Linked DNA regions of Homo sapiens: regions 2, 3, 4, 5, 6 and 7 are each linked to region 1. The links are contacts of gene promoters, found by promoter capture Hi-C in blood cells and fetal thymus (Javierre and others, 2016). All regions are on one chromosome and are shown on one strand. Each heading gives the region's core, a stretch centred on a gene start or on the middle of the fragment in contact. The rest is flanking DNA. Distances are from core to core; before and after follow the strand shown.

Region 1 (3,953 bases), core at 370-2,869:
TGCCTCCTGGAGAGCAGGAACAAGCTTGTTATTTATATTGTTCTGGTCCCCTAGCAGAATTATCTTCTCTGGTGGGCACTCAGCACTCTGGTGTGACTTCATCGCTGTGCCTTTCAGCAGGGGAAATATAATCTCCCGGTTGCCCTATAAAGAATTGCCACCTGAACACTATGCCCACAAGAAGTCTGCTGAGAAATAACTGTTGATAGATTGACTTAGCCTCAAAGACATCCTTGATTCTTTTCTAAAGTGTGCATCTGCCCTTCCACAATAAACGATATTTGTGGTTATCTTGGCCAGGCTACCTAAGAAATACTTTAGGAGAATGTAATTTGAGTATCTTCTTGGCTTGAGAAAGCAAGCAAACAAACCAATAAGCAGAATGAAACCAACAAAACCCAATAGCAAAAGGATCTTCGTGTTTAATAACCCTATCTGCAAATTTTAAACAATTTTGTGCCCCTGGGAGAAAGAATGCCTCCTTGCGTGTGAATTTCCAGGGCTTTTAATTTATAGTGACAGTACATTCAACACTTCCTTTTAAATTTGAAGGGAGGTGGCCTTAAAAATATGCTGGCAACTAGTTTGGATGAGAAAGATTCCGGTTCTTTATTTATTCAAACCAATTAGACCAGGTCTGAACAGGATTTACAACAGAGAGCAGATCTTGGGTGCACAAGAGCTTTGCTTCATTCCAGGTTGGCGAAAACAAGTCAAGTCTACATCATTGTTCTGTCAGCCGGTTCAGGATACAGCACAGAGTCGATGGGATGGGGGTGGGAAGGTGATGAGTTCAGGTAAATGTACCTAGGAGAGTCAGAGGCTAAAGTAAATTCTCTTAAATAGGCCTTTTCAGTGGCTGCTAAATCTCGCTCATTTCCCATGAATTAGCTGTGGGATATTGGGGACAACTTACTTCACATTTCTAGGTCTTAGTCTCTTCATTCGTAAAAGGGGGTAACGATAATTTTGGAGTTATAGCATGTAAATGTGTAAAACGGTTAGAGCAATGCCTGGTACACTCACACATAGCACGCGCTTTGTGAAATGTTTGGCAAGTAAATAAAACGCTAAGCTATGCTAACCGCGTCTAAACAGCCAGCCACTTGTAAGCCCCACCTATATTGAAATTACGGGGACGCTGCTGTTTTCCGATTGCAAGATTTTCCTGATCCATGCAATTACTTTCGCTGCCCTCTACGAGGCTGAAACTCGCCCTCAGGATGTGGGACGTCTGGACTCTTCTCTCCGTCCCCTTGTAGCCCCCCACTCCCCCTCGCGGTGGTACCGTGAATGAGGGAGAGGTACACGTCCCCCTTCTTCCCCGCCTCCTATCTTCGCGGCTCGCTAAAGCGTTATCAGCCGCCCCACGGTACTACCGTCCGTCTAGGAACGCCTCCGGGGCGGGGCTGGGATGCCGCGCACGCGCAGTACAGCAGCGCCGCGCCTGCGCCGTGGAGAGCCTGAGGGAGGCGGGGGATTGGTATGCGAGCGAATGTGCGAGGGGAGGGAGGCGTCCCGGCGGAGCGTGGTACTACGACCAGCGCGGGCCGGAGGGGGCGGGGGGATGCGCCGCGGCGGCGGCGGCGCGGGAGCTGGGGTTGGTGTTTGGCGGCGCCAGAGCAGCGGATCCCGGTCTCGCCGCAGCAGCAGCGCGGGTGTCGTGCACCGCCTGAAGACGCCGTACCTTTCTACCCCCCACCTTTTTTTTTTTTTTTTTTAAATAACCGGAACCAATGAACGCAGCCGGGATCAGAGCTCCGGAGGCCGCCGGTGCCGATGGGACCAGGCTGGCGCCCGGCGGGAGCCCGTGTCTGAGGCGGCGGGGGCGGCCGGAGGAGTCGCCGGCGGCGGTGGTGGCGCCTCGCGGAGCCGGCGAGCTGCAGGCGGCCGGGGCGCCGCTGCGCTTTCACCCGGCTTCTCCTCGGCGCCTTCATCCCGCCTCGACTCCTGGCCCAGCGTGGGGCTGGCTGCTGCGGCGGCGGCGCTGGGCTGCGTTGCTGGTGCTCGGGCTGCTGGTAGCCGGAGCGGCGGACGGATGCGAGCTTGTGCCCCGGCACCTCCGCGGGCGGCGGGCGACTGGCTCTGCCGCAACTGCCGCCTCCTCTCCCGCCGCGGCGGCCGGCGATAGCCCGGCGCTCATGACAGGTGAGGGGCCGGGGGGCGGCGGGCGGGGCTCGGCCGGCAGCGATGGGACCCCCAACCCGTGCAGAGGTCAGCATCTCCGCCGGACGTCCGCTATTCCGCGGCTCCGGCCAGGGCGCGATGCGGAGCCCTGCCTGCTGCTTCGTCGCGGTCCCCTGCACTCCGGACGTCTTTCCTTTTCACCCCGACACCCCGCCCTCGCCGAGCCTCTCGACGGCACTGATTCCCCTCCCTTCAGTCGGGCTCTCCGATCTTCCAAGCTGAGCAATGCGGTGGTTTCTCTTTCGTGCTGCAGAAGTGCCAGCAGGGTCTGCAGGGGACTGGGCTGATTTTTTTTTTTTTTTTTTTTTTGAGGCTGCTAGAAAAAGTCAGCAGCAGCATTGCGGTATTGAGTCTACCTCTGGTGCTGCTTTTGCAAAGGCAGCTGGCAGCGAGTCTCACCGGTTCAAAGCTCCGCTTGAGCACAGCGTCCCAGGGGAGCCTGCTAAAGGGGATTCTTTGAGAGCCATAATACCTAGTGATATTAGTGGTTCCGTGTTAGTATGCAGAAATGCCTAAGTTTACAGTGCATTTTTTGCGGGGTGGAAGGAGGCCGTTTTAAGTGGTGATGGAAAGTGTTTGGTGGTGGGAGCATCACTGGGTGACAAAGGGTGTAGAAACCTCAGCAGGTAACCAGAAATTATACCTAAAATTTGCAAAGTGCAGCATACTCGGGGCTTGCAGCTGGCAGCACAGTTCTGATAGACTGCACTAGCACCTTTTTTTTAATATATAGAACGATCTCATAATTGAAAACTTGGAAACGTGTTTTGTAAGGTTAAGTGCAGAATTGTATCCTTTTTAAAGCCTTCCGGTGTTATGTACAACTGATCAGTTGTGGTTTAAGTAAAAGTTATTATATAAGGACCCTGAAATGATTTCTTTGGGAAAAGTAATGGAGCTAAAATAATGGTTTTTTTTTTTTTTTTTAGTATTTCACTTATTTTTAAAGTAGATCTGTAGATTTCCTACAATAATTGTAAGACTAAAAAGTTTAAAGTGGCAGAAGATGACCCGTGATTAATTTAACCAAAATGATAGTCCTGCGGGCGTCTGGAAGTTACTAACAGCTTCTCTGACAAGTGCTCAGGAACTGTATTCTTTAAAGCCAAGCAGTTTCTCTGATTTCTATGATAGGATATTTACTATTCTAGAGAGAAGAAGGATGTTGGTAAACTTTAAAAGCTTTGGAGGATGTAGAGTATAGAACATAATGGTCAGCATGTTTAACTTTACCCTGAAGCATATCAAGCCCTATTAAATGGAACTTGATACATCAAACCTACCAATTGGGTAACTGGGATAAAGTGATTATAGAATAATCAGTATTAGGAGCATAGTACAGTTTGAGTGAGAAGATAGGTCAGACAGCTTTATGCTTGAATAGTATTTATTCTCCAAATAAAAATGTGGCAAGTAACAGTATAGTGAAGAATAGTGATTATTAGGAAAGTTGATAAATAAGACTATAATTTGAAGATTTAATGCCTCATGCAGGAAGGGAAGGAGCAGGAATATTTAGGCTTCTAGAAGGTATAAGTGGTTCTAGGTTTCTCGAGCAGAAAAATGTGGTTAATACATAATTGGCTAATGCTCTGTGAAAAAGTAATTGGTAAAAAGGCAAGCAATTCAGAAAATTTAGTATTTATTGACTGCTAATAAGTATATTTTATACTGTGTAGATCACATCAAGAAAATTGGTCAGATGGAATTTTAATAAGCCATTTACAATCCCTTTTAAGACTTAAATTTCTCTATACTTATTTAAG
Region 2 (3,953 bases), core at 793-3,292, 490 kb before region 1:
ACCCCCTAATGAAACAGAAAAGAACAAAATAGAAAATATTATGAATGTATCACACAATATATACCTTTCTAAAACTTCTGTGTCAGTGGCATGTGTATGTATGGGATTGCAGAGACCTAATTTCTAGTGATTATCAACTGGAAAACTATGAAACTCAGTCTAATAAATTCATATTGCCAAGCTGACCTCAGCCACAAAAGCTTCAGATATTTAAGACAAATATTACCAGATCAGTAGTTTTTTTTTGTTTTGTTTTGTTTTGTTTTGTTTATCTCTGATGGTAGAGAACAGTTAGTTTGCTATAAAACTTTGGTTTTGTTTTTTTGTTGCTATATTGTTTTGTGATGTGTATGTGTTTGTTTGCCCTGGTAAATATATATGTGTATTTATTTTTATTTATTTTTTTGAGACCAAGTCTTGCTCTGTCACCCAGGCTGGAGGACAGTGACATGATCTCAGCTCTACTGCAACCTCCGCCTCCTGGATTCAAGTGATTCTTCTGCCCCAGCCTCCTGAGTAGCTGGGACTACAGGCGCGTGCCATCATGCCTAATTTTTTGTATTTTTAGTAGAGACGGGGTTTCACCGTGTTAGCCAGGATGGCCTCAATCTCCTGAAATCGTGATCTGCCTGCCTCGGCTTCCCAAAGTGCTGGGATTACAGGCATGAGCCACCGCCCCCAGTCTGTCTTGGTAAATATTTAAAGGTTCATACATAGGAAATTTACAATACATCCTAGTTGTGGAAGGATTTACCCTTGCTTTGCATTGATGTAAGAGACTCATGCAGTTTAAAAAAAAATACAAATAGGCCGGGCGTCGTGTTTCACGCCTGTAATCCCAGCACTTTGGGAGTCCGAGGCAGGTGGATCACAAGGTCACCAGTTTGAGACCAGCCTGGCCAATATGGTGAAACCTCATCTCTACTAAAAATACAAAAATTAGCCAGGCATGGTGGCAGGCGCCTGTAATCCCAGCTACTCGGGAGGCTGAGGCAGGAGAATCTCTTGAACCTTGGAGGTGGAGGTTGCAGTGAGCTGAGGTCGCGCCACTGCACTTCAGCCTGGGCGACAGTTGTGAGACTCTGTTTCAAAAAAATAAATTAATTAATAAAATAAAAAGAAAATACAAATAAAATGATGATGCACGCTAAAACCTATCAGTTCAGGCCAAGTGCAGTTGCTCACGCCTGTAATCCCAGCACTTTGGGAAGCCGAGGTGGGCAGACCACCTGGGGTCAGGAGTTCAAGACCAGCCTGGCCAACATGGGAAAACCCCATCTCACTAGAAATCCAAAAATTAACCAGATGCAGTTAATCTCAACTACTTGGGAGGCTGAGGCAGGAGAATTACTGGAATCTAGCACACGGAGGTTGCAGTGAGCCAAGATCATGGCACTACACTCCAGCCTGGGCAACAGAGCAAGACTCTTGTCTCAAAAAAATAAAAAATAAAACCTCTCAGTTTCACTTTTTATATGTTAGGACTTGTTTGTATAATAGGTGCTTCTTCAATTCAGAAGGCAAATATAAAATTTAAAGTTGCAAAAAATTAAGCATAAATCCAATACATTACAAATATTGAAGGCAGTTAAATGTTCAAATGTTAAAGCTTCTGTTTTTGTGAAGATTTCAGTAACATTTTAAATTTTATTTTTCTTGGATTAGTTCCTGTGCCTACTGCAGTGTCCTCATAACAGCAGATGTTTGCTTTATAGATTTATTGAGGATGATCACAGAGTTTCTGGTGAATATTTTAAAATAAATAAGGCTTCAAAGCAGGGTGGTATCAGCATATGTATATTTTAAGATTGTCTAAAATATAGTTTCTTTCTCCTTAGAAAACAGTGAAAAGATGAAGACTTCTGGTAAATTGTTTCACAGCAGTGGAATTTGTACATTAGTTTTCTACACTTGGGAGTTGAAAAATGGAAGAATTATTTGCCAAAAGAGGAGGACAAAAGATAATATGCATAATTCATCTTTTTCTGCAAGTTCTTGGAAATTTAGTCAAAGTACATAGTTCAGTTCTCTGAATTGGGCATGATATGCTCTTCAGAAATCACGTTTTGAAATTACAGAAGATAAATAACCTCTCCCAATCAGTGTGTTAACTACCCTGATGATGGTTGCTTGTCTTTGTACAGATGTGTGCAGGCATACATCTTTAGTGGTGGAGGCAGTAAATGAAAACATATGGATTCAGAGTATGGAAGAATTGAATTCATTTTTTTCTGTTGCTTTGTTTCACCAGATTCCCCCTATTCCACATTAACCCCTTGTCTTCTCCCAGATTATCCAACTCTTCCTACTCTTTTCCATAGCGTTGTTTTGGCTTTTTGGCATTGTAAGAGGATTGCTTTTTTTCCCCCTTAAGTTATGTTTACTCACTTCATTGTCACTGCTTTCCACCTCATACTGGTTATCCTGTTGGAAGCACGAGGTTTTGTGTTGTCTCTCTGTGGAATTTGTTTCTTCAAAGCTTTGTGTCTTTCCTTTGGTTGTCATCATGCATGATAGCAGCGTGTATTCTTTTTCTTTGGTAAATTTCTCCGCCTAGAGTGTACTTTAGAAGGAAACTAAACTGCATTCTAGTTTAGTTGGCCCCAAACTGAGATCAGTAGCCAGAGATGGCACCCAAGGGTGGTGAGGGGATTAAAAATGCCTGTAGAAGTGTTGGTGGCAGCAGCTAAGCAGCTAGATTAATCAAATGTGCATGAAATTTAACTTTAAATAAACTCCTTTGTTGTTGAATTTTCTGTGGAAAAACTAACTTGAGTGAGAAATTCTAGCCCTGGGGCAGGGATAGGCCAGAGATAAATGACACAAATATGCTTATAAAATGGGGGGTGACTGGGTGCAAGCAGAACACACTGAAAGCATTCATATTTGAAATAAACAGTCACTATCTCTGTAGGGAGCCAATTTTCAATCCTTGGTCTACTTTCCAAATCTGTTCTTTCCCCTACCCTCATTAGCAGATTTTGCTTATTTTGTTGACTCCTGTAACTCCATCCCCTGGGACAGTGAATAGTCATAACAGGTATTCAGCAAATATTAGCCAAATGAATGAACTTTTGATACTACTAGGTTTTTAAGACATGCATCTATCTTGTCATGGCAGAACAGGTCATACTCTTATTTACCAACCTCTTAATTTACAAACTGAGAGAATAGCTAGATATATAAGAAGGTAATCTTATTTTGAAATGATTTCAATTTCTAGAAATTTGTCATCACTGAACTCTTGTGAGGTGGGGATTGGTACATCTGAAGGCCAAGAATATCTGAGTGTGTTATGCTAACAATGAATCAATATTGCGCTTACAAGATTTCCCTTACCAAATGATTTACCCAGTCTTCACAATAGCTCTGCAGATTGCTAACAATTAACATTCCTATTTTACAGAGACGGAAGCTCTAGAATAACTATAAAAGTGTTGGGATTTTTTCTTTGTTTGTTTTTGTAGAAAAACCTGGATTTTGAGGAAGCAAAATGTGGAAAGAGTTTATGTAATAATTCACCAGATTTTTCTCACAGTGGTAGATATCCAAGTGTGAGATTATTTGATTGTGATCTATGCTCATATTCCACAGAAGAAAAGCTCTGTATTTCAACTAAAACATTTCCATATTTGGGGCTGACCAGATTTGGTTTGTTAGGAGGTGGACAGTTGCCCTTTTATGGTCACTAGATACTCCATTGCTCTCTTTTATTTCTCTTCAACTTGGTGGCTGTGACACTCCCTCAAACAATCTTTTCTTTCTCTTTTTTTTCACTGCTCTTTTGTACTCCAGTGTTCTCTGCTTTCCTCCCTCTCTCTTCCAACCTACCAGCCCCTTTCTCTCTCTTCTCCTCCCATTCCTCATTTACATGCAGCCTGAACAAACCAAAGAGTTTGCTGTACATTCTGCCTGTAAAAGAATAGTATGTGAACATTGCTTTTGAGTCAGCG
Region 3 (3,953 bases), core at 417-2,916, 450 kb before region 1:
TTTTAGAGCCACATTAGCAGTGTATATGTTGATTCTAGTTATTCTGGAAGGTGTAATTGTGGTTTGAGTTACATCATAAATTCCAAAGAATGAGAGACAGTTTCTTATTTTTAAAGAACAAGGAATAGAATTGAAAATGAGCAGTATTCATTGTATCATTGTATAATCTTCCAATTTAATTTATGGATTTACTTTGCTTTATTGTTTTTGTTTTTAAGATTTGCTTATTTAAAAAATATTTATAAGCATTCCTCTCATTACAGAGCGTAGTAATGATGAAAGATTTCATCAAGAATTTCACCTCTGTAACAGTAATATTTGTATTTGTTTTTAGGGAAGCTATGCGAAATTATTTAAAAGAGCGAGGGGATCAAACAGTACTTATTCTTCATGCAAAAGTTGCACAGAAGTCATATGGAAATGAAAAAAGGTAAGATTATTTTTCTGGTGGATAGTTAATTGTAGTTACCACATGAATTTGCCAATTATGTATTAATATACATGTCAGAGGATGGCTTCTATTACTGGGTTCATTTGCTAGTACAAAATAAAAAATAGGGGATTTGTCTCCTGAAGGGGAGAAACAAAGTGAATTGTGGTATACTGTTAGGAATAGATAATTGGTGCTGTGAAGAAAAGTCAGCATGGAGACAGAGGACCTCTCAGCAAGGCAGTCTTTACTTTCTGCAGAAAGGGTGCCCCTCGCAGATGGAACAATGGAGAGAGCACACTTGAACAAAGGAAAAGCAGACATATTTGTCCCTTACGCATTTGGGTCATCCTTACTGCTGTGTCCTGCATCCATTGGCTGGAGCTGGACCTCACAGTATTAAACTGATACCTGATTTGCTACTAACATAAAACTTTCCTAAATACGTTAAGTGCAAGGGAGAACAAAGAAGAGAGGAAGTTGCTTACAAAAGGTTTAAGAAAGCAATAACATTTCCAAATAAGGAAGGGGCATAAGCTATGAGCTAAGACTTGCCTGGGCCTGCCCAGACATGCCTGAATAAGCCAAAGCAACTAATTGGGCTAAAGTGTAAGAACTGATAGTTGATAGGAGGCTTTAGAGTAAGAAGCTATGATTTCTAGTGTCTGTTATTTTATTTTCAAACCAAGACGAGCTTTGAAGGTGGAACTTTTCTACTTTCTACATACACTCAAGCCAGAAGGGTAATTTAATAAAGGTCATCTGGTTAATAAATCCCTGATCTTACAAAATGAAATAATCCACAGTTTTTCTTTTGGGCTACATAATGTCCCCGAAATACTTATGTGATACATTAGCTTATTCACAAAGAAGCTTTCTTTTTGGTGGAAAATGTAGTTTTTTACGCAAATGTGACCCCAAAAGTACCGTTTTGCAAAGGAAAAGGCTGAATAAGCTCTTGATCCTAAAACTGTCTTGAGCTTAGGTTAATTGAGCTATGGAATGATTATAAAGAAAACTCCTGGCCCTCTCTCTTGATCCTATTCTTGTTTGGGTTGCTATTAAGAAGAAACAGCAAAACTGGGTTCATACTCTCATACTACTTGAATGTGGACTCAACAGAAATTACCTATAAAGTAGATTAACCAAAATTAAATTACAACAAGGTGATTTTTAAAAAATTATTTATTGTGGTATTCTATAAATTTCCGCATTTTTTATGTTTAATTGGGGACTTTCATTGTTGTTTCTTCACTTGGTTCCTGGAATTTTCTTTGAATAGTTTCTTGAGTCTGTCTTTCAAACAGCATTTTTTGGTTAAGCATTCCATGGAAAAAGCCTGCTTATGGAGAAAGATCAAAGGTTTTTTAATTGGCTAGAAAGGTACCCAACTGAAGAGAAAAGGAATGAAAACTAAGGTTTTGGGATTGTTGTGAAAGGAATGAGTAGAATTCTTAGAGATTGTGACATAAAGGAAACCTCAGCTTATGCTTAAGAGAAGGGAAATGTAATATGTATGTGATTAAATTAATTTACATGTTAAAAGAGAATTTTTAGGAAGTTCCTTGAAGCTGACTAGATCTGAGCTGAAAAGAGGGGTAAAGCTTTCTTTCTTTTTTTTTTTTTTTTTTTTTTTTTTTTTGAGACAGGGTCTCTGTTGCCCTGGCTGGAGTGCAGTGGTATGATTTCCACTTACTGGGCTCAGGTGGTCCTCCCACCTCAGCCACCTGAGTAGCTGGGACTACAGGCACTCACCACCATGGCCAGCTAATTTTTGTATTTTTTATAGAGACGGGGTTTCACTATGCCGTCCAGGCTGATCTCAAACTCCTGGGCTCAAGTGATCCGCCTGCCTCAGCCTCCCAAAGGATTACAGGCATGAGACACCGTGCTTGGCCAAGAAGGTAAAGCTATTTAATTGGTAGTTTTAATCCTCAAAGATGAACAAGTGAAAACAATATTTAAGATTCATACTGCCAGGTACTGTTATTCAGGCTTACTAAATTTCTGATTATTTTATCGTACTTTACTAATACAACTTAAACACTGATTTAGGGTTAAAGATGGGAAGAAGTTGGTATCTGTAGTTTGGGACATAGCGTACCAACTCAAATTAGTGGTCCTTTTTTTTTTTCCCACGAAGTTGATATTAGAAATTCAGTATTTTTTTTTTCATAAATAAAATTTAGTGTGTGTTTATAGCAAGTTTTCTGCTTTTTAAGCAAAACAGAAAAAGTTAACACCCATCATTATGGAGGAAGAATCTAAAAGGCCAGCTGTGCACCTCATAGTGAATCCGAGGTAGAAACAGTTTCATATTGGCTCCAATCATGAGCCAGACATGATTCCCAAAGTGCTTTATAAATATTTTAAAGTTGTAATCCTCGTAACAATTTTGTAAAGTAGTCATGTTATGATCCAAATTCTGTGGGCAACGAATCTGAAAATCAGAGACTTTAAATGTGTCCAGGTTGACATTAGTTAGGAATCTGTGGAGCTAGGGTTGGAACTCTTGAGGGCCTAATTTTAAATATTTACCCTTTTTACTACCCTAATTGCCATACCATTCCATTTGCGTTTGAGTGTTGGTTATCTAGAGCAGGGATTGAGGAGGAAAAGATCCTTTAAATACTTAAACTTTGTAAACTTAACTTTGCCTAGGACTAACCCTTTTCCATTACCTAGGTGAGATTGGGCTAGCCCAATTGAATTATGAATAGATGTGTGTTTATCATATAGCTTCAAATTTAGGCAAGCTGCTTTTCTTTTCTCTGGATTTTTGAAGATGCATTTTAGTACAATTGAATTCACTTATTCTTTATTTCTGATTGGCTATTGTGTGCTAGGTTTTATGCAAAAGGACCTTTACTAGGAGTTTTAAAAGTCACTGTGTCATTTAATACCGGGATGTATAACTGAGGCCCGTTGGAGATAACAAAAGGGGAAGACCTATTTAGAAAATTGTGTTAAAGTCCAGATAAGGTTCCTGTTTGTTAGTTACTGTTAAAAAATACGGCCCGGCATGGTGGCTCATGCCTGTAATCCCAGCACTTTGAGAGGTCAAGGTGGGCGGATCACCTGAGGTCCGAGGTGCCACTGCACTCCAGCCTGGGCGGCAGAGTGAGACTCCGTCTAAAAAAGAAAAAGATCCAACATATATAGAGAGCTGTAGTGGTTTGTCAAGTTAAAATGGAAAATTTAACCATATCTTTTATTGTAGTAGCTTTTATTTTTCTTTTTTCTTTTTGAGACAGAGTCTCGCCTTGTTGCCCAGGCTGGAGTGCAGTGGTGCAATCTTGGCTTACTGCAACCTCTGCCTCCTGGGTTCAAATGATTCTCCTGCCTCAGCCTCCCAAGTAGCTGGGATTACAGGCACCCACCACCACGCACAGCTAATTTTTGTATTTTTAGTAGAGACGGGGTTTCACCATGTTGGCCAGGCTGGTCTCGAACTCTTGACCTTGTGATCTGCCCGCCTCTGCCTCCCAAAGTGCTGGGATTACGGGCGTGAGCCACCGCACCC
Region 4 (3,953 bases), core at 514-3,013, 430 kb before region 1:
TTGATCTACAGTTTTCTAAGCCAGTGATTCATTTCTTTGTTACTGTTTTTTTTTTTTACCCTCTGTCATGATTGTACAAGGTGATTTTATTTCCCATGTCAATGCAATAAGCTAGAAGACATGAAGTATAGTAATAGTAATCTGTAAAGCTTTGCAGCTGAGACAAATTATAATAAAAAGGGTAACGTTAGGGAATGAAGGGCATGAAAAACAGAGCAGGAGACAGAAGCAAGCAAAAAATCTGAATCAGCATTTATTCATTTTTTTTCTCTTCTCATTCATTTCCTCTGTTCCAAGGATGATGTTCATTTGCTTTGGTGTTAAATGCTTGTACTGCAGAAGCACAACTTAGGAGGATGATTCTGATCACCAATAGTTTATAATACAAACCACTTAGAAGACAGACCCAAATTTAAAACAATGTTTTCATTTACAGTTGTTTGTAAAGTACCAGTAGCCTGCCTTGCTTGAAAGTCATTAATTGAGGTTTTTACACTCAAAACTGTATGGCTTTATATAAAAATGTTGCAATGAAAAATTAACTTATTAGAAAAAGTTGCAGTACCATTATTAAGACGCTGATACATAAATCTTTCCAGGGGTTTCATGACAGGAATTCTGACATGCAAAGTCGAGTGCCTCTCGTCATTGAGTTTACATTTTGATAGAGTGATAAGCCAAATACCCATGTAAAGGATTTATGTAGTGATGAAAAAACAAAACAAGATAATAAAGGGATAGAGAATTGGAGGAGCGCTTAGAGAGGTCAGGGAAGTCTTTTTGAAGTCGCAGTATTTGAAGAGAGCCCAGAATGAAGTCAAAGAACCGGTAATTGAGTGAGGAGCATTTCAGGCAAACAGAACAAGTACAGAACTGAAGGCAGGGGATGTATGATGACTAGTAAAGAAACCAGTGGAGCTGGAGCGGAGGGAGGAGAGGTCAAGTGGCAGGAACTGAATCTGTAAGGTTAGCACTAAGCAAGACCTTGTAGGATCCCTCTCTGTATCTAGGGTAAGGACTTCATATTATCTCTGCATGTTAGAAGGCCACTGGAGGATTTTAAACGGGGCACGATGGCCTATTTTTGTTTAGAAGTATATGTGTGGCTGCTGTGTGGAGAAGAGAGCATAGCAATGCGGCCGTGGAAGCAGAGAGACAGGTGCTTGGATTGTTGTCATAATTGAGGCAAGAGTTGATGCTATCTTAGACCCAGGATCATAGTATTAAGGTGGTGAGGGGTGACTGATTTGTTGGAAAGTGGACCTGACAGAATTTGCTGGCAGATTGGATGGTTGGGTGTGAGAGAAAGCAAGGCATCAAGGGTGACTCTTAAGGTTTTTGGATTGAGTGAATGCTAGTGCCATTTATTGACCTAGATGAGTTGGGGAAGGATCAAGTTTAGGAGGAAATCCAAAAATCTGTTTTCGATATGCTAAGCTTGAGGTGCCTGTTAGACATCGTAAGTGGAAATGTTGAATAGGTAGTTAAGTGTACATACAAGTTGAATGCAGGAGAGAAGTCTGGAGATAATAAATTTGGGAGTTGTCAACCTTTAAATTTTTAAACAGTATAGATTATAAAGAGAGGAAAAGAGGGCTGAGAACTCAGCTCTGGGCATTTTAAAGGTCAGTTGGAGCAGTTGTGGTCCTGAAAGCAAAATGTGTTGAGAGCTTCTGAGAAAATGAAGTAAAATGAGGACAGAAAAGTGCCGTGAGATGCATCTGTCTGGAAATCCTTGGTGGCTTTGAAAAGCAGTTGTAGTGGCGTCTTTGAGATAAAAGGTTGGAGAGATTGCAGGAGATTGGACAGTGAGGAAGAGGCGTTTGCAGAAAAACAGGTAGTGAGAGGGAGGGACAGGAGCATGTAGTCAGTGTTTTCTTTACTTTTGATTTTGAGATGAGAGATAGTTATGTTTGTATGTTGTTGGAAGTGATCAATAGAAAAGGAAACAGAGTAAAAGTTCTGTGTCAAATTTTGCTCTTCATCATGATCATCTACTTAGCCATTACCTTCTAGGTGTCAAGTGTCATATAGGGTTTGATAGTATTATCTTTCAGATATTCATGTGTTTTGTAGACTAGTTGCGTTATAAGCTTTAGAGATCAGTTGGACAGGCAGCCAGCCCTGGGATCAGGACATATTCTGGTCCTTCAGCTACTAAACTGGTAATTTTGAGCAATTTGTCTGACCTTTCTAAGCCCATTTTGTAATCTGTAAAATGAGTTTGATTTTGTTATGTTTTTAAATACGTAAGTTTTGGATAATAGATATAAGACGTTTGCACTGACAGTAGCCTTCTAGAGATTTTTCCCTTTGATGTTGGAGTATTTGTCATTTTATGCATATTATTGGAAAATATCATTAGAACTTGCTGTTCAAAATATGGTCTGTAGGCCAGCAGCATTAACATCAACTGGGATTTTGTTAGAAATGCAGAATATCAGGCCCCACAAGAGTCCTGCTAGATCAGAACCTGTGTTTTTCACAAGAACCCCAGCTCATTTATGTGCACATTAATGTTTGAAAAACACTGATCTAGAAAACAAGTGCCTGCCTGCCTGATTTTTTTTTTTTAGATGTTCAGGGAAGAGGGTAACAGTTTCTACATTCTGACATGCTTGCAATCTAAAAGTGTTTTTTATTCCTAGTCTTTTTGTTTGTGAATGTTTTTATATATGTAGGCATAGGACAAATAACTGTGATGTATTATTATGCAGTATATAGCTTCTATGTACTTTTGATGTTTTACACAAGGAAAATCCTTTCCATGTGTGGATGACCTTTTATTTCTTAATTGTTAAATATAGATAATTAGGAAAGTTGATAAGCAGACCGCATTATTGGATGCAGATGATCCTGTGTCACAACTCCATAAATGTGCATTTTACCTTAAGGATACAGAAAGAATGTATTTGTGCCTTTCTCAAGAAAGAATAATTCAATTTCAGGTATGTTTTTAAATTACTGGTGAAATCTAAAATGTACAAACTGTGAGGTTAGCAGCTTGCAAAAATATGAAATTTTCATTTGCTGTTAATTATATACAAATACATGAAGCTATACACAGATATTTATCTCAGGTATGAGCATCCTTAACACACAATCCTCAGACATGCAAGCAATCCTTCCTCAAGGAAGAACTCAAAATTATGAAAATGTTCTCAGAGAAAACAGTTAACATCTAGTTCCAGGGTTCTTAATTGAAGAACAAAGAGCCCCTCAGGATATCCAAAAATAGATTTTCAGTGCTCATTGAATCCTCTGAAATTGTGTGCAAACATTGTATAGACAAAGCATTTTTCTGGGTGAAGGCTCAAAATCTCATCAGATTTATGTCGTGGTTTCCGAAGATAGTAATGATGACATGCTTTGAAAGCTAATGTTTTACATTTACTCAGAAGGCTTTCATGAGGTTATGACATGGGCAGATGATTTAATAAGACAGTTATGGTTTCATGTGAAACTCCTTTGCAGAGAGATGCCCATACACACTGATGGGCATGCTGAGTCCCTGGTCTAGGTGTGTTAAGGTAGGGGTAGGGGCTTTGCCTTCCCATCTTGATTCCCTCCCATGGAACATGCATAAGCTTCTAGCTGTTGCCTAAGCATGAGGAGTCCCATTGTCTTTCTTAGGAGTCCTTGAAGAGTTTTAAACAGCCATTTACATCACAGATATTGATCTGCTGTTAATGAAATTGTACCTGCATTGGTATACTCATAATGGTTGTTCTGAAAGGTATTATTATTTAATATGTCACTGAAATAGTTTGTATTATAAGAAAAACTGCTGTCTATGGGGTTTCTGTATTAGCATTCTGTTTGTGTTTATGTAGGGATTGGCAAAGCACCATACTTTAGAAAGTTTATAAGTTTTTACTGAGTTATCTTCTTATTAACTCTTGTCTGAGGGTTACTTGGTAAAATTTTCTTATCCTATTAATACAAACTGTATA
Region 5 (3,953 bases), core at 403-2,902, 410 kb before region 1:
TCCAAACCGCTCAGAGAAGCAGGTGTTATTATTTCTATTTTACAGGTTAGAAAATGATGCCTTAAGTAATTTACCTTAGATTCCACAGTTCAAAAGCGACAGAACTGGGATAGAAACCAAAATTTGATTCCAAAAGCCTTTGTTGCTCTCCTTACACCTCACAGGTTTTCATTGTTACGGGGGAGCTACAGGTGAGGCTTGAGACTCACCTAGGGCCTCTGAGCTGGTCCACAGCCCGGCTGCTGATCAAACCCAGCCTCGCCCAGTTGAGCTGCTCTCCATTCCATGTTTGTTTTAGTTTTGCTCCTGCTTTTGCAAGGGAAGCCCAGTACTCAAGGAGACAGGGCACAGTTAAGAAAACCAAGTTCTTGGAACAGGCCCAGATCTGTACCAGGCTCTGGGCTTGAACATGACTGCAGAAATGTCAGGAGTTGCTCCCGGAATGGATAATTGAGTCCAGGGAGGTGACTCTTTCTCTGTGTGGATTAACACATGACTATCTCCATTGCCTCCCTGTGGCCCGTAGTGGTGATGGTTGTCAGGAGTGCTGTGTGTCAAGAAGGACCATTCTCAGCAAACTAACACAGGAACAGAAAACCAAACATCGCGTGTTCTCACTTGTAAGTGGGAGTTGAAAAATGAAAACACATGGACACAGGGAGGGGAACATCACACAATGGGGCCTGTCGGAGGGTCAGAGGCAAGGGGAGGGAGAACATTAGGACAAATACCTAATGCATGCAGGGCTTAAAACCTAGATGATGGGTTGATAGGTGGAGGAAACCACCATGGCACATGTATACCTATGTAACAAACCTGCACGCTCTGTACATGTATCCCAGAACTTAAAAACAAGGATTCAGAGGCTGCATCTGCGGTTAACTAAAGGGCATTATGAGCAGTGATGCCTGGTGTGTGAGATGGAGACTATGCACAGACACCAGTTATTTTCCTTCCTTGGCCTTAGGTGACGGTTCTCAAACATGACCCTGCAACAGAATCACCTGAGGGTTAAAACTCAGATTACCCTTCCCCAGCGTTTCTCATTCAGGATATCTGGATTAGAGCCCAAGAAACTGTTTAAGAAGTTTCAGGTGAGCTGATGCGAATTCAGAGACCCCACTTTGAGAACCAGCAGTCTAGGGGTGTTAGCCTGTAACTACCTTTCCTTTGCCACTTTTTTTTCAATTGTGATTTGTATCTTCCTGCACTCACCTCCCAGCCCACCAGCCCATACACCAAAAGAAAAAAAAAAAAAGAAAAAAAGACCAAACGACCCAGAATACAGCTAGGCAGCTCAGGGGACAGGCGTAAACAGTTTTTTTGTTTGTTTTATTTTTCCCAAGTCAGGCCTGCATTTCAGCCCCTCACCTTCTGAGCTTAGGAAGGTCAGCTAGACACTCTGGCCTCTGTTTCTTCTGTAAAGGGGAAGATTGTGATAGATGGGCTCAAAGGTGACTTCTGGCTGGAAGTTTCTATGATCTATGACTGCTATCAAAAGCTTCAATGCTGCTACTAGAAAATAATCATCATCACTACTTGCTAAACACCTAAGGTGCCAGAAAGTGTGCTAAATACTTTACCTGCCTGATTGCATTTCTAAAACTTACAGCAACTCCGGAGAGCAGGACTTCTTATACCCATTTCATAGATGAGGAAACTGAGGCACAGAGAAGCTAAATGATGTGACTAAGGGGACGATGTCAATGATGTGAGAGCTGGGGAATTGTAGGGGCCGTTGGAGCATGGTATGGGAAAGGAACATGAACCTGAGAGGCACATATCTTTGAACTTTATCAGATTCAAGCTTCCTCACTCCCAGCTCTGTGGTTTTTGGACAGCTCACTTTATTATATTTCTCTAACCTTAAGTTTCCTCCTGTAAAATGGGGTAATGTTATCTGCCTTATTGAGGTTGCTGATAAACATAAAAAAACTGAATATGAAAAGTGCCTGGCATGAAGTTGACCCTCAGCTAATTCTAGGTTTGATCTGGGCAATGTGGAAACTCAGCTGTGTTTTGGGGTGGAAGGCAGACCTGCACATGGGAAGGAAGGTGGCTGAATTTTCACCCTACTGAGACTTATCCCTTGGTGGAGGAGGTGAGGGGCCTTCACCCATGTCTGAGCAGCCATCTGTATTCTCTAGTAAGAAGGGTGAATGCTCCCTGTTCTCAGCCTCCCAGAACCCATGTTTATCATCATGAATTAAGCTGCATAAAATTCAGGAAGCTCCTGGGGTAGCCGAGAATATAAAAGTTGAGCTGGGAGGAAGTTAAGATAGATCTCTCTGCCTTTGCTGTAGAAACAGACGCTCTGCTCAAGGGAGATTGTGCTAGGAATTTGAATCCCTGCAAAACACCGAGGCATTTCAAGCCACAGAAGGCTAACGAGGGGGATTTTTAGTAGAGGGAATGAATCCTGGGGGGAAAAGGATGAAGTGGAGCCTTCCACGATACACAGCACAGACAGGCTGAGTTACTGCTGGTGATGGAGCCAGAAAGTCAAGGACGTAGAATTTAAAGAGCCCTGAGTCAATAATGGAACCGGAATGGAGGATGCATCAGGGCTTATTGCCCCTCCTCCCCTCACCAGCCTTCTCACCTGCCCATTAGGAGGCAGCTTTCCCTGGGGAACAGGTGTGGCCATCAGCAAGCCATGTTTCTAAACAAGCTCACTGACTCCTTCCTCCCCTGGATGTGTCCTAATCAGCGTGAGACAAGTCAGAGTTTGAGGGTCACACAGGTGTGCAGGATCTCACAAATGCGGAACCAGCTAGACTAGAAGGGCCCCCGCACTGGGTTTTTCTCACGCAAAGCAAGGACAAGCAGAAGCAAGTAATGAAAATACATAAAAAGGTACAAAAGCAAATGTTGACATTAAACAGAAGACTCCTTTGAACCAGAAGAGGGACATGGGTAGCCAAACACAAGCCAGGCTCAAGTTTCCTGTCTCAGCAGGGGAATACGCTGAGATTAGCGGTATTGATTGTTCATTTATTTTTGAGATAATCAAGTTACAGGCTGATTATAAAATTGCATCTCAGCAGTGTGCCTTGACTTTTTTTTAAATCTCCCATTAGTCTGTCTGGGTCAGCCTGGCTGTGGTCACAGGGGGGCTGCCAGAGGCCCACACAGCAGCATGATACCCCTATACCTGTTGCTTCCCGAGGCCACCGAGGTCTCGTGAGTCAGGGCTTGTGACAAAGAGAACCTGCCACATCTGAGCCTGAACCCTGGCACACGAGGAAGCAGGCCCAGGAAATGAGATTGTCTCCATTCCCTGCTCCAGCTCCTCCTCTGTAGAAGCCCATTTGTGTAAACGGACGGTGCTGGACTGTGGATGTGCAGGGGTGTGTGGGCAGGAGCAGGGGCAGCAGGGCAGGTGACTGGACCTGAACATGCCTGCAGCCAGGGTAGGGAAGAAGTGTGCTATGAGCTGTGGAACCAAAGCCCCAGGGCAAGGCCACTTGGGATAGGCAGAGAGAGATGGGCCACTTCCTTTTGTTTTTTTTTTTTTTTTTTTTTTTTGAGACAGAGTCTCGCTGTTGCCCAGGCTGGAGTGCAGTGGTGCAATCTTGGCCCACTGCAAGCTCCACCTCCCTGGTTCAAGCAATACGTGTACCTCAGCCTCCCAAGTAGCTGGGATTACAGGCACGCGCCACCACACCCAACTAATGCACTTCCATTTTTTTGCAGCACCTTCCTTATATGTTACAGAGTGAAGGAATGCTTCCTAATCCCACAGCCAAGAGAAATGAAAATATGGGTTCCTGCAAAGAACAGTGGATGTTTAGAGCAGCTGTATTTATAATGTCCCCAAACTGGAAATAACCCAGATGCCCATCAACTGGCAAAAGAATAAACAAACTGTGGCTTATCCATGTGTGGTGGGTGGAGTGACGGCTCTTCCCAAAGTTATATCTGCGTGCTAATTCCTGGAAGCTGTAAATGTG
Region 6 (3,953 bases), core at 417-2,916, 390 kb before region 1:
AAATTGAAATGGCGTTTTGTATTTTATCTGGCAACCTTACACCTGGAAGGTGCCCAAGAAAACACCTGCAGAATTAGGTCTTGGGATCTGTTTGCTCCACCCCTGGAGAATTTTTCAGCTGGGCTAAAAGTCCCTTAGCCATTTGTGTTCTCTCTTGCCCACCTTGTATATTTGCCTCAACTGGCTGTACTCTTGTTGCAGCTGCTGCCTCTGTGCTTGAGGAAAGTCATTGAAATTAGAGAACAGGAGAGAAAGACAGAAGCAGTTGATGAAGAAGAGGTCAAAGAACAGATGTGAGGACTTGGCTCAAGTTTTCAGTGGTTCCTGCTAGTGCCATGTAAGGGGCATTAGTAAGGTTCCATCTTCTCTGACCATCTTGGGCTGGTTCTGGGCCTTTGGAATGAGTGGACTTTTGAACCCTGCATCCTTCAGGGAGCAGAGGCATATTTGTGGGTGGCTTAAACAACAGAAATGTATTATCTCACAGTTCTGGAGGCTGGAAATCCAAGATCAAGGTGTCAGCAGGGTTGGTTTCTGGTAAGGGCCCTCTCCTTGGCTTGCAGTTGGCCGCTCTCTTGCTGCCTGTTCACACGATTGTCTCTCTGTGCATGGGTGTGCACGAGGCCATCATGACACCTTCATGTACGATGTTCTGTGCTAGATTTGGGGGTTGCTTGTTATTGAAGCACAAGGCAACAAACACTGATGAATAAACCCAGAAACCTCAAGCAGAGTTCTTACATTTCATTGGCTAGAGCCAGTGGTGTTTTAGGGTTGGCTTGTATTGGCTTGTAAGGGCCAGTTGTTAACTTTCCAGAAAACTTGGTAGTTGATACTCAAAATGCATCCATATTAGGCCACTCTTGCTTTTCTATAAAGGAATATCTGAGACTGGGTAATTTATAAGGAAAAGAATTTTAATTGGTTCACAGTTCTGCGGGCTGTACAGGCAAAAGCAGGAGCAAGAGGGAGAGAGGAGAAGTAGGTGCCTCACACTTTTAAATGACCAGATATTGTGAGGATTCACTCACTATTATGAGGATAGCACCACGGGGATGGCGCTAAACCATTTATGAGAAATCCTCACCCATGAGCCAATCGCCTTCCACCAGGCCCCACTTCCGGCATCGAGGGTTACATTTCAGTATGAGATTTGGGCCAGGACAAATATCCAAAGTATATCAGCATCACTTTTTTAATTATTTTACTACAGGTAGCTATCATCTATGCTCTTGTTATTTATGTTTCTTGCATCTGCGTGGTGGAAATACTATAAAATAATGGGCTACAGCACGTCTCTCCCAGCTCCCTGTTCAATGAGGCCATGCTGGTGACTTGAAATTGTCTGTGATAGTATTTATACAATAGAAATCAGCAAACTAGCTATAAATTAGAATTTTTTTTTTCTTTTTCAATTAGAGAGCAAGTTGTTAAGCATCCCTGGCCAGACTGGGACACAAACCTACCTCTCAACCAATAACTAGCAAAAGGGAATAAGATTATCATGTCTGGCACAGATTTATCATGATTTATCTCCTGGACGTAGGCTCTTTTTCTCTAAACATAATGCCATTGTCTCAGTCTGTTTTGTACTGCTATAACAGCATACCTGAGACTAGGTAATTTATAATAAACAAAAATGTATTGGCTCACAATTTTGGAGACTGGGAAGTCTAATACCGAGGGGCCTGCATCTGGTAAGGGCCTTCTTGCTGAGTTATAACATGTCGGAAGGGCAAAGAGAGGGTGAGAGAGAGAGCGAGCAAGAGGGGGCCAAACTTGTCCTTTTATAAGGAGCCCACTCCTGAAATAATGGCACTAATCCATTTGTGAGGGCAGTGGTCCCATGACCCAAGCACTCCCATTAGGCCCCACCTACCAACACTGCAGCATTGAGGATTAAGTTTTCAACACATGCTTTTTGGGGAACACATTCAAACCATAGCAACTGTCAATACCTGTACTGTACCATTATGGAGTTCATGAGCAAGAAATAAGGAGTAGGGTGGGGGGACTGAGCTGTTGTTAGGTGACAAGAAATATACAAAGACAGCATTATGAGAGCTCAGAAAAAACAGACATCTTTTCTGATAGAGAATTTTGGAGGTTTTATGGGGAAGTTAACAGGTGAGCAGAGCTGTGAAGAATAAGATTTTATCAGGAAGTGCTAAAGAGAGGAGAGTGCCCCAAATTGAGGGAGGCATGCATGCAAGGAAGTGCTTGGGAACAGCAAATAATTCTGTTCTGAAAAGAAGAGGAAATTGACTGATAGGGAAGGGAGATTGACTCTTGCTTGCTGGGGACCTGGATGCCAGGCTAAGGAAATCGAACCACTAAGCACTGGGGAGCCACTGGGCAGGGAGAAAAATGATCCAAACCTCATATTGGTAAGGCCAGTCTGTTACCAGAGGGTGGGGTCAAGTGGAGGAGAGAGAGAATTGGGAGGGGGAGAGGCCAACTGGTCAGCAACTGTGACATTTTGGGTTATAAGTAACAAAGTTAATTCTGATTTACAGTGCTCTCAATAAAAATAAAAAAGACCAGCTGGACCAGGTTAATAACTGAAATTAGTGACTTAGACATCATTTACAATGGCTATCACTCATTAAGCACCTACTGTTTGTCAGACACTCTTCACATGTAATTAGTTTATTGAAAGGTGTGGAACAATCAAGAAACAGCTTTGTTTTTCTTCTACCTCTGTCTTCATTCCCTCTCTGTTAGATATTCTGCCCCTGACATGATATCTCTGCCCAACCGATAGCTTTCCCCAAATCTTTCCTGCCTATTTCATCAGGACAACTTCATCTTCAGGTATTTAGTATGATACAAATCCAAACTTTCATCTCACATTCAGTTTGAAGCCTCTCTCTTTTCCTCTAAATCAGACAAGTCCAGGCAAGGCATCTGCAATGAGAAGAAGCTAGTAGTCTTTTCTCTCTCTCTCTCTCTCTCTCTCTCTCTCTCTCTTCCTTGTTCTATTTCTTCCTCTTGAGGATGGAAGGAGAGGTCAGTGGTAAAGGGGCAAAAGTGGTGTCATTTGTAATTCTTCAATGGTCAAAGGACCTTTGGCAAATGCTGAGCCCTTCTCTTTTGGGGCAACTTTGTGGCTTTCCAGAGACCACTCTCCCATGCACACACATTCTGTGAAGACCTCCAATACTGCATCATGTTCTGGTGTGAAGACGCATTCCCTGGTCAGCTCCTGCTCTAGCAGAATAGCCCATGTGGCTTCCTTCTGCCCCAGGGTGACCAGGCCTGGCTACTTCCTATGATGTCTCCTGGATCAATGGAGCCATCCCTCTTTGCCTCTCTTCTGTGAACTGAATGCTTGTGTCCCCTCCCAAATTCATATGTTGAAACCCTAATCCACAATTTCATGGTCTCTGGAGGCCTTTCAAAGGTAATTGAGTCATGAGGGTGGAGTCCCATGAATGGGACCAGTGCCCTTATAAGAAGAGACACTAGAGAGATGATTCCTGTCTCCACCATGTGAAGACACAGCAAGAAGCTATCCTTTTGCAAGCCAGGAAGAGGGGCCTCGCCAGGGACTGAATTGGCTGGCAGCTTGATCTTGGAAGTCCCAGTCTTCAGAACTGTGAGGAATAAATTTCTAATGTTTAAGCCACCGAGTCTATATTTTTGTTATAGAAACCCTAACTAACTAAGACACTCTCTATCCTTGGAAACCTCGCTCCAGTCAGGCTCTTTCTTAACACTTCACAACACTAGACACCAGAAACAAACCCTGAATCCAGGAGACGCAAGTTCCCTTGGAACTATGTTCCCAAATTGAGATCCCATGAGAGGAAGGGTCAATTTTCCCTATGACAAAAACACCACCCTTTGCAAATGTTTCTAGATGCAAGGTTTGAAAGGTGTGGTTTCATGGTGAAGGAAAAGGAAAATGGCACAGAATTCCCTGCCCATTCAGTTGACAACACTTGTCAAAG
Region 7 (3,953 bases), core at 688-3,187, 260 kb before region 1:
AAGGTAATTCATGCATATTTTATGTTATTTAATATCCCTATCAGGATCCGGCAGTACCTTGTAATTGTATACATTAATATTTCTGCAGCAAAATGCATGAATTTTTACACTATGTATGATAAATGACTAAATATTCTTCTTTTTTTTTTCTTGAGACGGAGTCTTGCTCTGTCGCCCAGACTGGAGTGCAGAGGCACGACCTTGGCTCACTGCAAGCTCCGCCTCCCGGTTTCACGCCATTCTCCTGTCTCAGCCTCCTGAGCAGCTGGGACTACAGGCGCCCGCCACCACGCCCAGCTAATTTTTTGTATTTTTAGTAGAGACGGGGTTTCACCATGTTAGCCAGGATGGTCTCTACCTCCTTACCTCGTGATCCGCCCGCCTCGGCCGCCCAAAGTGCTGGGATTACAGGCGTGAGCCACCGCGCCCGGCCCTAAATATACTTCTGTCAATTTAGTATCACATGAGTTCAAGTCAGGAAAGATTTTGCCACTAATTCAGTTTTGAAAAAACTTGGTTTGCAAAGCTTTTCAGGTTTCAGGATTTCAAAAAAGGATTATGAATCTGTACATATAACATCAGGAGGTGAATCCTTGAAGTAATAGAAAGTTGGGCAAGGATAGAAAGAAATAGAATAGAAAGAAAAAATAGAAAAAATAGAAAATTAGAAAGTTAGAAAATAGACAAAATAGAAAGTTGGGCAAGAATAGAAAGAAGGATAAAGCAGGAGTCTGGCGATGATTACACAAGAAACTCAAAAAAGTATTTGGCTGGTTCTTAAGATAAAATAACATCTATATTATATATATGTATATTTGTAAAATCAATGTAGATTTATTAGACAGATCTATAATATTATAGATTCATACTTTAAAAGAATATGATTATGTATCTTTAAAAATAATCTTGGACTTGTAAGAGAATCTGTGATACCAACTTTGCCTTAGTTTATATCCATTAGCACTGACATTTAATAGAAATAACTCTTTAAAGGCAACTTTACAATCTGCTTTAATAATATACTTTTAAACAACTGGTGGTTTGTTACAAGCCTTTTAAAATTTAATCAAGAGGGCATTTTCCTGCCACCAGCATCTTCTGTACTGCCTTCGTTTTATCTGTTTGGGTATATCCAGAAAGTGCTAGAGCAGTGTTGGCCCAACTTAGTTGGAAATATAAAATCACACAGAATATTTCACAGCCAAATATAAGTGATTTTTAGATTTCCCCACCCCCCACCATTAGCTCTTCTCTTAAACGTTGACTGTATTTTAATATATCCCTTTATGTGTTGAAGTTTGTTAAAGAGAGTGTGGAATTTTGTGTTCTCTAGAAAAGGGCTATGTTTTTCGTTTTCTGAGTTACTTTATGAAGTCAACCTGCATCTTAAAATTGAATTTGCTGGCCAAGTGCAGTGGCTCACGCCTGTAATCCTAGCACTTTGGGAGGCCAAGGCGGGCGGGTTGCCTGAGCTCAGGAGTTTGAGACCAGCCTGGGCAACACAGTGAAGCCATGTCTCTACTAGAGTACAAAAGAAATTAGCTGGGTATGGTGGCGTGCATCTGTAGTCCCAGCTACTGAGGAGGCTGAGGCAGGAGAATTGCTTGAACCCAGGAGGCAGAGGTTGCAGTGAGCTGAGATCGCGCCACTGCACTCCATCCTGGGCGACAAAGCAATACTCTGTCTCTCCAAAAAAAAAAAAAAAAAAAAAAAAAGAATTTGCTCACTCATCTTCTAGATGATGGGGTGATTAGCATCAGATCAGCAATGTTATTTTATGTTATCATGCATTATTTGTATTTCAAATGGATGTTGTGTAATACCCCAAATGTTATTTTCATTCCATTAAGTGTTTAATATGTTTTGTTGCTCAGATTGTCATTATAAATAATAGAATTGCAAAAGGAAGGAAGCTGAAAGAAGATAGGCTTTGAAGAGAGAAGGAATAATGCAACTAATAGGTTGTTGTCCTAAGTCAAGAACCCTGATTACATTTGGTGTGAACCATGGAGTGCTGTGATACTTACCCATATTTATTTTGGCTGCTGTTTGTCCTTTAATCCTGAAAAGTTAAACACAGTAAAGAAATGAATAATGGTGTACAGGATTATAAAATAAGAAAGTTCCTGTCTCCATAGAAAATACATATGTAAGGGATAAGAGAAGTACTAAAATGTGGGTTTGCTTGGTTTAAGTACATCTCTTCATGTTTTATTTCAGCTTTTAGAGAAAACTGCATTGTTTATAGAAGGTCATGTAGGGTTGAATTAGGTAAGACCAAGTTGAAATAAAAGGTGGAAAATTGGTTACTAAATGTGAAGTGAATACTTTCAGGCATAGAGTATACCACGAAAGGAGGCTAAGAATAGAGATGCGGATGAATAGGGGACAAGACAGCCAGTGCTGGAAGAGAAGGGGGTCAGCTTGGGGATGTCAGCAAAAGAAAACCAGTGAGGGATCCATCCTCAGGTGAGAGAAACCAGAGCAGGGCTGAAATTATACAGTGCAGATTGAGTATAAGGCATGGTCAGCTTTTGCAGAGCCAGAACTTTCCATCTGAAACTAGAGCTTATTCCTGGCTACAATGTGTGTCCACTGGGATGACTAGGATTACAGAAACAAGTCCAGTCTACAGTTTTAGAAAGAACCATAAGTATTAGGAAGAAATAAAGATAGTAGTAATTCAACATATTTTAATTGAGCCTCTCATCTGTGGTAGGTTGGGCTCTTGAGAGAAATTAGAAAAGTACAAAACAATTAAGCTCATGATAAGGATATTTCGGGGATTGATGTGAGAAAGGACATATCCTTTTAAAATATCACTTCTGTTTTAGCTTTTTGTTTATATATTTTATATATATTGTGTATGTCTATATATATATATACATATATACATAGAGAGAGACATATATAAGCAATAACTCTCCTTCTCCCCCACTCCCACCAACCTGTAGTAACCACTGTTCTACGGTCTGTCTCTATGAATTTAACTACTTTAGGTACCTCATACAAATGGAAACATACAGTATCTGTCTTTTTAAAGATTTATTTCACTTAGCTTGATGGCTTCAAAGTTCATTCATGTTGTAGTGTGTGTTGGAATTTTCTTCCTTTTTAAGGGCTGAATAGTATTCCATTGTATTTATTGAACACTTCCTATGTGCCAGTTACTGAGTATATTGAAAGAAGAATGCAAATGAATAAGGTATAAATATACTGAGAGGAAATGGCTAGAGATTGGGGAAGTCTTGGATAGCACTCAAGGTGACAAGATGGGAGTGAGTTCCCAATGTAGGAACAGTAAGAAGGCTAAGCAGAGGGTCTCTCTTATAGGGTATTTCTAGAGAAATAAGCTTATCTAGGTTGAGTAGAACTAGAGTTTTAGAGGGATGTAAATACTTGAATGAAATATTCTGAGGAGGGTGAAGGCATGGAGTTGGTTTTTAGGAACATTAATCTGACACAGATGAGCAGGTTAGATAGGAATTGGAGTGAGTGCTTTAGCTTCACCTTCTACTCTTTTTGATTCTTACATTCTATTGGATCTTTTGCTGTTCCATAAACTAACATTGTACAAAACCATTTTCATGCCTTTGCTCAGTCTGTTCACTCAGCCTCTATTGCTTTGCTCCCGTTTTCCAGTTTCTTTAATTAGAATTGTTTCTTTTTCTATAGGAGGTACCTCTGTTGTGACATCTTTTCTTTCTTATAATGGCTTTTTGGTGTGTTTTAAAATTGGCTATCTTGCTTACTGGACAATAAAAACAAGTCCCAGAGAACAAGGACAATGTCTTATTCTTCGTGTGTTTCTCATGGGGTTTTGTAGTTTGTAGGTTGAAATCTTTCATGCATAAAAGAAGGGACAAATACATTAATTAGAAGTACTTACCATGTGATAGCTCTTGTGCTAGATCTTGGGATACAGAGATGAAAGAACATTTTTCTCAAGAAGC

The links. Contacts are between HindIII fragments. The CHiCAGO score rates a contact against its expected background, and 5 or more counts as called.
Region 2: a contact is called between a fragment that was not itself captured here and the fragment with the promoter of STIM2 in region 1, in 1 of 17 cell types (total CD8 T cells). The highest score is 5.9, in total CD8 T cells.
Region 3: a contact is called between a fragment that was not itself captured here and the fragment with the promoter of STIM2 in region 1, in 1 of 17 cell types (fetal thymus). The highest score is 7.1, in fetal thymus.
Region 4: a fragment that was not itself captured here is called in contact with the fragment with the promoter of STIM2 in region 1 in 1 of 17 cell types (fetal thymus); the score reaches 6.9 in fetal thymus.
Region 5: a contact is called between a fragment that was not itself captured here and the fragment with the promoter of STIM2 in region 1, in 2 of 17 cell types (fetal thymus and M2 macrophages). The highest score is 6.6, in fetal thymus.
Region 6: a fragment that was not itself captured here is called in contact with the fragment with the promoter of STIM2 in region 1 in 1 of 17 cell types (total B cells); the score reaches 5.7 in total B cells.
Region 7: a fragment that was not itself captured here is called in contact with the fragment with the promoter of STIM2 in region 1 in 1 of 17 cell types (fetal thymus); the score reaches 5.7 in fetal thymus.

What each region holds. Positions count from the first base shown.
Region 1 is chr4:26,859,222-26,863,174 of GRCh38, forward strand. STIM2 (stromal interaction molecule 2) reads left to right here and starts at 1,620. Exons shown (of 12, transcript NM_020860.4): 1 at 1,620-2,148. The coding sequence starts at 1,998. It overlaps STIM2-AS1 (STIM2 antisense RNA 1), which reads right to left and starts at 1,378. Exons shown (of 2, transcript NR_134674.1): 1 at 1,289-1,378; 2 at 403-807. RefSeq lists an enhancer at 1,177-1,276 and silencers at 1,367-1,736, 1,747-2,316. The HindIII fragment of the contact is 3,345 bases long and covers 23-3,367 here.
Region 2 is chr4:26,366,036-26,369,988 of GRCh38, forward strand. All of the region lies in intron 1 of RBPJ (recombination signal binding protein for immunoglobulin kappa J region), which reads left to right. Among named protein-coding and RNA genes, the nearest start is that of RBPJ, 47 kb to the left of the region's middle. The HindIII fragment of the contact is 870 bases long and covers 1,608-2,477 here.
Region 3 is chr4:26,405,841-26,409,793 of GRCh38, forward strand. RBPJ (recombination signal binding protein for immunoglobulin kappa J region) reads left to right here. Exons shown (of 11, transcript NM_015874.6): 3 at 335-430. Among named protein-coding and RNA genes, the nearest start is that of CCKAR, 83 kb to the right of the region's middle. RefSeq lists an enhancer at 1-1,078. The HindIII fragment of the contact is 731 bases long and covers 1,302-2,032 here.
Region 4 is chr4:26,425,913-26,429,865 of GRCh38, forward strand. RBPJ (recombination signal binding protein for immunoglobulin kappa J region) reads left to right here. Exons shown (of 11, transcript NM_015874.6): 8 at 2,808-2,948. Among named protein-coding and RNA genes, the nearest start is that of CCKAR, 63 kb to the right of the region's middle. The HindIII fragment of the contact is 656 bases long and covers 1,436-2,091 here.
Region 5 is chr4:26,450,117-26,454,069 of GRCh38, forward strand. No RefSeq gene overlaps it. Among named protein-coding and RNA genes, the nearest start is that of CCKAR, 38 kb to the right of the region's middle. RefSeq lists an enhancer at 2,755-3,293. The HindIII fragment of the contact is 306 bases long and covers 1,500-1,805 here.
Region 6 is chr4:26,468,686-26,472,638 of GRCh38, forward strand. No RefSeq gene overlaps it. Among named protein-coding and RNA genes, the nearest start is that of CCKAR, 20 kb to the right of the region's middle. The HindIII fragment of the contact is 7,217 bases long and covers 1-3,953 here.
Region 7 is chr4:26,598,261-26,602,213 of GRCh38, forward strand. The region is part of intron 1 of TBC1D19 (TBC1 domain family member 19); the gene reads left to right. Among named protein-coding and RNA genes, the nearest start is that of TBC1D19, 16 kb to the left of the region's middle. The HindIII fragment of the contact is 2,827 bases long and covers 525-3,351 here.